Regions from separate parts of the Homo sapiens genome. Here region 2 is linked to region 1. Evidence: promoter capture Hi-C in 16 types of primary human blood cells and fetal thymus (Javierre and others, 2016). All regions are on one chromosome and are shown on one strand. The core of a region is centred on a gene start or on the middle of the fragment in contact, and the rest is flanking DNA. Distances in the headings are between cores, read along the strand shown.

Evidence for each region. Contacts are between HindIII fragments. The CHiCAGO score rates a contact against its expected background, and 5 or more counts as called.
Region 2: a contact is called between a fragment that was not itself captured here and the fragment with the promoter of HS1BP3 in region 1, in 1 of 17 cell types (naive CD4 T cells). The highest score is 7.8, in naive CD4 T cells.

What each region holds. Positions count from the first base shown.
Region 1 is chr2:20,649,185-20,654,244 of GRCh38, reverse strand. HS1BP3 (HCLS1 binding protein 3) reads left to right here and starts at 3,147. Exons shown (of 7, transcript NM_022460.4): 1 at 3,147-3,213. The coding sequence starts at 3,182. LOC105373466 (a long non-coding RNA gene) reads right to left here and starts at 2,963. Exons shown (of 2, transcript XR_001739320.2): 1 at 2,893-2,963; 2 at 2,045-2,270. RefSeq lists enhancers at 2,729-3,466, 3,551-3,700, 3,721-3,800 and a silencer at 2,881-3,470. The HindIII fragment of the contact is 7,312 bases long and covers 1-4,618 here.
Region 2 is chr2:18,550,434-18,555,493 of GRCh38, reverse strand. It overlaps NT5C1B-RDH14 (NT5C1B-RDH14 readthrough), which reads left to right. Exons shown (of 11, transcript NM_001199104.2): 11 at 1-771. It overlaps RDH14 (retinol dehydrogenase 14), which reads left to right. Exons shown (of 2, transcript NM_020905.4): 2 at 1-771. The coding sequence ends at 303. Among named protein-coding and RNA genes, the nearest start is that of RDH14, 7.7 kb to the left of the region's middle. RefSeq lists an enhancer at 4,677-4,971. The HindIII fragment of the contact is 3,937 bases long and covers 1-3,872 here.

The DNA of each region.
Region 1 (5,060 bases), core at 1,898-4,397:
CCCAGGTCTGCCATCACCTCCTCCTGGCAGAATTCTTTGTATGCCCAACCCTAGGCTGAGTTAGTTATGTGCCCTCCTCTGTGCACCATAGCACCCTAGGCGTGCATCCTTGTTGAAATCTCCAGCTGTCCTAGAGTGGCCTGTGAGCCCCTGCAGTGGGCTGTGAGCCCCACAGGATAAGGCTCTGTAGCCCCCAGGCCTGGGGAGATAACAGGCCTGGAGCTGTACCTATGAGTGTTTGCTGAGTGACAAGCAAGGTGGTGGCCCTGCTCCATGTGGATGTGCCCAGACCCTGGAGCTCTAAAGTATCACATTAGGGAACAGAGACAAATTATAAGGTCCCAGAAGACCCGAGCCACCATGGGAAACGTTGGTGCATGGCTCAGCCAGAGTTCAGAGCACCCCCTGCAGGCTGCGGGTGTCTCTCAGTGACCACAGTGTCCTGAGGCCCAGTGACTTCCTGGGTGGAAACTGAGGCCTGGAGTGTTCCTCCCAGGGCAGTGAGAAAGAGAGAAATAGAAAATCCTTTGCAATGTGGTTTGTGTTACCGCAGCTTCAGCCATGGAAGGGGCTCCTTGAATTAAACAGGAAGCAGAAAATATCAGATTTAGATCCCACATTCCATGCATTGTATACAATTACGCGCTGGAGCCATAGAGGGGCACGTGGGACCCACAGAGGCAGAAAATGGGATTGCTGTTGGGAATGGGGTCGTTCTTTCATGGGAAACCAGTTGCATTCTTGACAGGTGGGCCGAGTCTTCCTGAGGTGCACACTTCACAACCCCAGGGGCACAGGTGAGGCCCTCTCATTTGCTTACAAGGCATTGGTGACAGACATGCTACCAGCTCCCACAATGATGGAGAGTCCCCTTCTCTGCAGCCCCCCAACACCGCTGCATATCTCTGGATTGTAGACCATCCTTGGTGGGCTCACCCCAACTCTCAGGCTCAACAGCCTCCTTTTTACCCATGACTCCTATGTCAGTCTCCAGCCCAGGTCGGCTTCCTGAGGCCCAGGGCCATAAACCCAATCGCATCAATAGGTCCAGCCCTTCAAACACTGCCTGTCTGAAACAGAACCCATCATCCTACCAAAAATATGCTCCTTCTCCAGGTGCCCTGCCACAGAGAATGATACCAATGTCCAGCCACTCACAAGAGCCAAACCATAGTGGTATCTTATCTCTTCCCGCCCACACCCATTGGATTCCCAAGTCTTGACCAACTCCTTCTCCTAAGGCCCTCTTACCCGTCCCCTCTTCTCCACCTGGGTGGCCATCACCCTAGTTCATGGGACCATTGTCTCTTGTCTGGATTGTTCTGCAGTCCAGCTCATCTTCATACCTTCAACATGCTCCAAAACCCTGCCCACGCCCTAGCTGGCCCAGCCACTCCTATGTCCCTGACCCTCTGATGGCGCTGTGTTGGCCTCAGGATCAGGCAAAGCCCTGGCCTTGGTGCACTAGGCTGTCCACACCCTGGCTCCTGCTGGCCTCTTCCCCCTGTTCCCTGGTGTTCCTATCCTGTCGCTAGGGCTTTGCACGTGACATTCCTTCTAATCTATTCTATCCATATTTCTTCAGGTTTTCCCTTGGACTTCAGCTCCTTTAGAAAGCCTTTCCAGACCCCCACCCACTCCCCATGTAGGAGGGCAAAGAAGTCCACTGAAGGCATCTAAAGTGTCTTATTCACTGTGTTTCTGTCTGTTGGATAAATGTGAGTGCAATGGTGACTGCTCGACTGCCTGGCACTACACTCAGACTCCTGGAATGCTGAAGCCTATACTGCTTTCTGTCCAGACCCTGAACTCCCTTTCTCTAAAGTAGGGCATGCCAATTTAAACAAAACACGGAGGACCATTTGCAGCCATGAACACGGCCCTGCAGACGGACAGGCCGATGAGCAGCAGAGCAGACAGGGGTTCCCGCCATCATCCCAGCTCTTCACTGCAGCCTTCAAGGGTCTCCCTCAGAACTTTCATTCATTGTCATACTTCATTCATGATTGCTCATCTTGCCTATAAACAAATCTGAGACAAATAATAAGGCATATCAATGTCCGTATTTATTCAAGAGATACATTGGGGAAAGTCATTTTTCAAAATCTTTTACTGTAGGATTTCTTCACTAAAATCTGTAAAAACTGGTAGATATTGTTGGTGATGCTGGTGGCGGTGGTTGATAGGCTCAGGAAACATGGCTGACATCGCCCTGCCGTGAATTCTGGTATAGTTAAGCCCAGCTTCTCTTTCTTTTTGTCACTGGGGCTCTGGGTGGAGGGAGTAACAGAACAGGGGCAGCAGTTTGCACCTTCTGCTGGCCCTGTTTGCAGACTCAGCTTTTCTTTCCCTGGGCTACGTTGGCAGGTGATACGATCTCTCTGTTCCTCACCCCATGGAGAGGTGAATCTAAAATGAGTGGGTCTGTTAGGGTCTGCATGTCTGTACGTTCCCCTTCTGAGGGGAACTGGCTCCTGGACCCCGTTGCCCTGCTCCAGCTGGGGACCCAAGTGCAGCCATCCCAGGCAGGCCCGGCCCCGGGAGGCCTCCACCAGGGCTCTGCCAAGCAGCAGAGGCTGCCTCTCTAAAGATCCCCTGTCGGGAGAGTGCCTGCCATTTATGGAGCGGGCAGGCAGTAGGAACCAGATAGGCGAGCTAGCTGGAGGCAGCAAGCTCAAGGGGACTGGGCTGCTGCGTGGCGTTCACTGTGCAGCTTGAAGAAGACCCCACGAAGCCTGGACAGAGCCCCAGCTTGGTAAATATTTGTTGACCGATCGGTTGAATGAAATGGTCTTGGGGCAGAGGGGGAGTGGTTTTGTAATGGGGACTGGCGGCGGAAACAGCAGAGTCCCGTCTCTCTAACGGCTAAACTTTAGCGCAAAACAGACACACCGATTAAGGTTCACCGTGTGCCAGGGCCAGGCTGGGCTTCTTCTAGGTGGTTGCGGCGGGCGCGGCTCAGCCTGGGTGCTCCGGAAGCTCCGAGCAGCGCAGGCCGACGGCGACCGTGCGGGACCCGCCCAGCCGCGCTTCCGCCCCGCCTCTGGCCACAGGCGCGAACTGCGCGGCCGCTGCCACCAGGGGGCAGGCCAGGGCAGCGGGAGGCAGGGCGGGGACGCGGTGACGCGGGCACTGCCGGGTCCCGTGACTGCGCGCCCCGCCCGGAGTCCCCGCCGCCGTCATGCAGTCCCCGGCGGTGCTCGTCACCTCCAGGTGAGCCAGACCCCCGCGCCCCACACCGCACAGCTCGCAGTCCGGGGCGCCCGGGCGGAGAGGCGGGGGGAGGCCGCCGCCTCCTAGGCCAGGGACCTGGTGCAGGTCTCCCCAGCGCCCTCGGTGGCTTATCCGGGCTGGGCCCCTGCACCGCCCTGCAGGAGAGGTGGCGACCCCGATTTACAGATGAGGAAACCGAGGCCCTCTGGAGGGTAGAGAACTAGCCAAGGACAGCGGGAGCCCTGGGACTGACTGGTTCAGTGCAGGCGGGCGCAGTGGGGACTCTGCTCTCCTTTCCTACCGCCTTGGGTTCTTCTCTTTTGAGCCCGAAAATCTAGTTCCCCATCCTTTCAGAGCTCCCTGAGTCCCAGGCCCGGTGCTGGGCACTGGGGACAGAGGCGAATCAGACAAGCTCGCCCTGCAGGGGGCTGCAGCGGAGAGGGGGTGATGCCAGCAGCGGGTAGTAAGCTCAGGTTGCCATGGGAACACAGTACAGGGCAGGAACCCGGTTTCTGGGAGGATGAGTTTGATGAGAGACCAGGGAGAGGTCGTTGCTGCTTGCGAGGCAGCTCAGGAGAGCGCAAGTTACAGCAAAAGCCTTGGAGGGGTCCAGGCGGAGGATGCAGAATGGGTCGGCCCTGATCGAGACCTGGAGGACCCAGCCCAAGGTGGATCCTGGCAAGGCTGGGAGGCACGTGCTTTTACTTCTTTCCGCCTTTAAAACGCTGTAAAGTGATTTACTTCAAATATTTTCATACACTTCACCCTTGCTCTCCCTACACAAAGTCTTAGGCTAAGATGCCAATTTATGACATAAATGAACGTGTTACCCAGCCAACTGTTGATCTTCCAGTTGTAATCAGGAATTCCCCGTGACTTCAGGTCTAGAAAGGTATGATTCCTTTTGTAAACCCTGATGTCGGAGGCTGCTTGGTCTTTCATGATCAAGTGTGGTTACAGTTGTATCTTCATGGGCAGAAGAGGTTTCCCTACTGCCACTTACGTCACCTCCTCTCACCAAGCCTCAGTTTCCTTTTCTGTGAATTGGAGGTTTCAGATTGGCAGGCATGAGCAACGTCAGTAGTATATGCCCCTCAGCCATGTGCAGATGGATGGGGTGTGACTTTGGTGCTGGGTGCTTGGGATGGGGTGGGTGGCTTCCCTCCCTGCCCCGCTGCACAGCCTGGACGTGGCTTGTTAACAGATGTGGGGGCGCTGGCGGTGGTAAGGCCACATGAGTCAGGCTCATTTCTTGCTGAGGGCACCAGCACACCCAAGGATCTTGCCTGCAGGGTGAGTCCAAACGCCTTAGCCCAGCAGCAAGGCCGGCCCTTCCCAGTCGCACCCCAGCTCCTCTTTCCAGCCCGATCTCCTCCCACATGTCATTGCCACATGCACTCAAGCTTGAATTCAGCCAGAAGGTGTTTATCGAGAGCCTTCTCTGTACCGGGTACTGGCCCTAGTTCTAGGAGACAAACAAGTCCCTCTCGTAGAGCTTTAATGAGGGCACAGGCCCAGTGGGCAAATCTACGACATGTCAGGGATGATACATGCTATGAAGGAAAACAAAACAGTGGGGGCAACAGAGTGGTAGGAGGCATGCATGCTGTTTTCTATGGTGTGGTAAAGAGGCATCTTTCTGATGGAGTGGCGCCTGGACAGATCCCGGACAAGCTCCATGAGGGAGAGAGCCATGAAAAAGAAATCTTGGAAAAGTGTGTACTGGGAGGACAGGACAGCAGGAGCCAGGGTCCCGAGGCTGGTATGCTGGAGTGGAGTGAGCCCAGGGAGAGTGTTAGGTGATGCGGTGAAGAGGCAAGCTTGGGAGTGAAGGATGATCAGGAAAG
Region 2 (5,060 bases), core at 655-3,154, 2.1 Mb after region 1:
GGCACAAATGTCACCGTCAATGTGTTGCATCCTGGTATTGTACGGACAAATCTGGGGAGGCACATACACATTCCACTGTTGGTCAAACCACTCTTCAATTTGGTGTCATGGGCTTTTTTCAAAACTCCAGTAGAAGGTGCCCAGACTTCCATTTATTTGGCCTCTTCACCTGAGGTAGAAGGAGTGTCAGGAAGATACTTTGGGGATTGTAAAGAGGAAGAACTGTTGCCCAAAGCTATGGATGAATCTGTTGCAAGAAAACTCTGGGATATCAGTGAAGTGATGGTTGGCCTGCTAAAATAGGAACAAGGAGTAAAAGAGCTGTTTATAAAACTGCATATCAGTTATATCTGTGATCAGGAATGGTGTGGATTGAGAACTTGTTACTTGAAGAAAAAGAATTTTGATATTGGAATAGCCTGCTAAGAGGTACATGTGGGTATTTTGGAGTTACTGAAAAATTATTTTTGGGATAAGAGAATTTCAGCAAAGATGTTTTAAATATATATAGTAAGTATAATGAATAATAAGTACAATGAAAAATACAATTATATTGTAAAATTATAACTGGGCAAGCATGGATGACATATTAATATTTGTCAGAATTAAGTGACTCAAAGTGCTATCGAGAGGTTTTTCAAGTATCTTTGAGTTTCATGGCCAAAGTGTTAACTAGTTTTACTACAATGTTTGGTGTTTGTGTGGAAATTATCTGCCTGGTGTGTGCACACAAGTCTTACTTGGAATAAATTTACTGGTACAAATTCTTAACTGTGCATTTCTTTGGAGGCTTCACTGAATACAGTCCTTTATCATGTCACCATTAGCCTATGCTGATCTTGGTCTGCCCAGTCTCTTCTTGCCACGTATCTTGTACACTGCTCTGAGAGATAATATTCCTAAAACCCAAATCTATCACATTCCTGCTTAAAAAACAGTGGGTTTTGAGCCTTAAAAAAAAAAAAATTTGGCAGAATTCTTTCTTCAAAAGCGGTGTTTCACTGAAACGTAGAAGCTGGAGGGGGTAAAGCAGGTTATCGCAATGCTGCCAAGGTGGAGTCCCCCACGGCAATTCCTAAAGGGATTTCATAGAATATAGTGGTTTATAAACCACTTTTATTTAGACTAAAGATTAAACTGTTGAAGATAGAGTTGAGGCTCCATGAGACAGCACCATGCTTACCCTATACTCTCATACTCAGCACTGTTCAGTAGAACTTTGCAGTGAGGAAAGGAATACTCTGTGTTGTCTGATGTGATGGACTCTAGAAACATGGGATTATTAAGTACTTCAAATTCAACTGAGAACTGAATTTCTAATTATATGTAATGTTAATTTAAATAGGCACATGTCTAGCAACTGGTATCTTGGACAGTACATCTCTGGTCATCCCATCAGATAATCCAGTCCTGATTTTAGAACAGTCACCTACTCACTTGCTTTGGGCCTTTCTTTATATTGTTCTTTCAGTCTGGAATGCCATCTCCTTTTTCCTTGGAAATACGACTTACCCTTCAGGTTCCTTTCAAATGTGTTCCTTTCTCCAGCCCCCGTAGGCAGAGACAATTCTCTCTTCCTACTTTTTTTTTCCCCCTTGATCTTGGTACTTTTACTAGGAGTTTAGTGCACTAATTATTCATTCACAGGTTCAGTCAGATAATCAGAATAGAAATTCTCTAAGGAAAGGAGATTTATTTTATTATTAGCTTTCCTCCATCAAGAATCAAGTATAGTGCCCAGCACACAGTAAAAAATCAGTAAATAATGGTATGCATAAGAATAATTGAGCCCAAATAGGAATATTGCAGGCATCTGTGTTACAACATCAAAAGTATCTACTTAATTTTAATTATTTGTTTCACTATCTCATATCGGAAAAAGGAATTATAACACTAAAGTATAGACAGTTACACTGAATTTAATGACTATTTAGCCCAGGGATAATTCTTGGTTATTATTTTTAAGACCATTTATAATATCAGCTTATGAGTATCGGTTATTTTCAAGAATGGCAGGATCTTGGCATATCATGCAGAAGGTCTGTTTTCTGTTAGAGCATTGCCTTGTGAATTGGAGAAACAGTGTATCATCACAGGTGTGTCTCTGCAGGTGTAGTGGATATAGCTGCATCATATTCTTTGAAACATTGTATTTTTAAAAAGTAATCCTACAAAGAGACCTGCTGAACTTAGAAATATAGGCAGGAAATACACCAGAATGCAACTTGGAAAAATGGAAGCTAATAAATCTGTCCTACACCTCGACTTCATTAAAAGGGAGCCCCTTTTTTTCATTTAATACCATCTTTTCTGGCTGCATTTTGATACTTGATGCTTTTCAGGGGATTTGGACCTTTTGTAAGAGTTGAGCCTTTCAGAGTTCTTTTGTTTGTGGCACCATAATAAAATAGGATATATTAACTTATCATGATAGAAAGCTAGAAACTTACCTGGAAACACCAACTATTAAGGTAAAATGAGCTGCCATTTGGAAGATGTCCTTCGCACCACTGTGTTTGATGGAATTGAGGACTAAGAGCTCCAAAATGATGAGGTAGATTTTGAAGAAGTCCTTAACTTCCCCTCCTTCTTTCTCCCTTTTGCTGACTCACTTTAATCCATTTTACTGGGCAAAGAAATAAGTAAAAGGCAGTCCTGTTATTTTGGTATTGTTCTCACCCTCAGCAGTATATCAGAGGGGAAACTGTAATGTGCCAGATCATGGAAGAAATGAGTTGAAAGCCCATTTTCCATGCTGGTTCTCAGCTTCATTTTTTTTGAAAAATTGACTCGTGTTTCAAGCAGCTTATTCTGAGAAGGGTTGAGGTTGCTGGCCTTCTGTTTCAACTTTGCTCAGAGTAACTATTTTATATAGTGGGGTTCTAAGTAGGATTTAATTGGACAAGGGGCTTCACAGCTTAAACACACCACCACATTGGGTTTGACTAACAGCTCTACTGTGTAATGCTTCCTGTAACCTTGGCAAGTTACTTAACCTTTCCGAGCTATTATTTTTTTTGGCTCTATATTGAAATATAAGTGTCTACTTTAAAGGATTACTCAGTGAATGAAAGAGACAGACTAGGTAAAATGTTTAGCAAAGTGTCTGGCACATACAGGCACACATCCATTTCTCCTTCCACAATGCACATAATCATTACTATCCATTAGCAGTAATAGTAATTAGCGATGCTAATGGTTAGGCAAGTACATATCATGGAAACAAAACTCTAAACCAAGGGGCAGCAAACTTCATCTAAAAGGCCAGATTTCTTTTTATAATCTTTCAAAAATGTAAAGACCATTTGTAGCCAGTACATACCATACTATTGTACTTAAATGACTGGTACAGTCTTCCAGGCCCAATGTACTCACTTACTTGTTTACCTTTAAGACACCTTGTTTGAGAGTAGTTGTCGTATATGCTGTGACTCCTATTACTCTATAAGGCTGCTGTTGTTTTTCCATATTATTTCTAATGTTGTGGACAACTATTTGCTTGCAGACCAGGAAGCCTAAAGGGTATATTTTAAAAGTCTGTCTCCAGCTATAGATTCTGGTGTGAGGAAGAGCAGTTATCTGCCTTCAACTCCCTCCCCCTGACAAACTTGCTGGGCCTGGCCAGAGATCTGAGGGACTCTGTATTTGAATATTTAATTGATTCCAAATGTCCTATGGAACACTGAAGAGAGAACATGTTACTAATCACCCTTCAGGAGCTTGGCCCCCACAGACAGGTTCAGATGTTCCACAAGCCTTCTCTGGGCGATGGGGAGTTAAATTAGTTACAGGCTAACATGGAGAAAGGTAGTTTATTCCTAGAGGAAACTAAGACGGAATGCTTAGTTTTATGCAGACAGTAAGGAAAAGCTTTTGCTAAGCCAGATGTGTAATCAAAGTGCAGTGGAAGCACTTTTAAGCAACTACCATCTAAGAGATTTGCTGTAATAACTGATTCTCCATTCTTTTTTTCTAAAAAAAAAAAAAAAAACTAATGCACATAGCATGTGAAACTCTAGGCTGATAGGCTTTCTTCTAGCACACAACAGCCCTTCTGCTTCCTCTTGTTCTATTATATACTTAAGAGTGAGTTGTGTACCATTTGTTATTCACTTAGCAAATATTTATTGAGTACCTATTATGTAACCGGGCATTATTCTAGTTCTGGGCATGCAGGAGGCAACAAAGAAAACCCAACCCAATTTGTGCATGCATATGTCAACTGTGCTGGTTAATAATCACATTACAAATTATTAATCATACTGCAAGTCAATGAAATGTGAGTACAAAGAATTTATATGAAAAGTAGAAAAGTAGTTTTGTAAAAACTAAATGAAAGCAAGTCACTAAAAATTTACTGTTGACTAAAGTTTCAAAGCAACTATCAAATACTAAAAATAAATACAAAATTATAAAAGGAGTCTGTAGTTAGTGCTTTGCAAGTAACTTTAAACTTTGAGTCCATTTTAAGGGCAAAAAAGCTAGAAATCCGACTCTACTATTTAAGTGAATACAGGAATACCACAGAGATACTTCTGATTTTGTTCCAGATCACCACAATAAAGCAAATATTAAAGTGAGTTACACAAACTTTTTTGTTTCTCCATGCGTGTAAAAGTTATGTTTATACTATACTGTTGTCTATTAGGTGTATAAGACCATTATGTCTAAAAAACAATGTACATACCTTAATTTAAAAATACGTTTTTTGCTCAAAAACCTCTAACAATTATCTGAGCCATCAGTGAGTCATTATATTTTTTCTGGTGGAGGGTCTCACCTCGATGGCTGCTGACTTCAGGGTGGTGGTTGCTGAAGGCTGGGTTGGCTGGAGCAATGTCTGAAAATACAACAACAATGCAGGTTGCCAAATTGATAAGACTGTTCCTTCCATGAAATATTTATCTGTAGCATGTGGTGGTATTTACCCACAGTAGAACTTCCTTCAAAATTGAAGTCAATCCTATCAAACCCTATTGCTGCCTTCTCAACTAAGTTTATGTAATATTCCAAATCCTTTGCTTTCATTTCAGAAATGTTCACAACCTCTTCACCAGGAG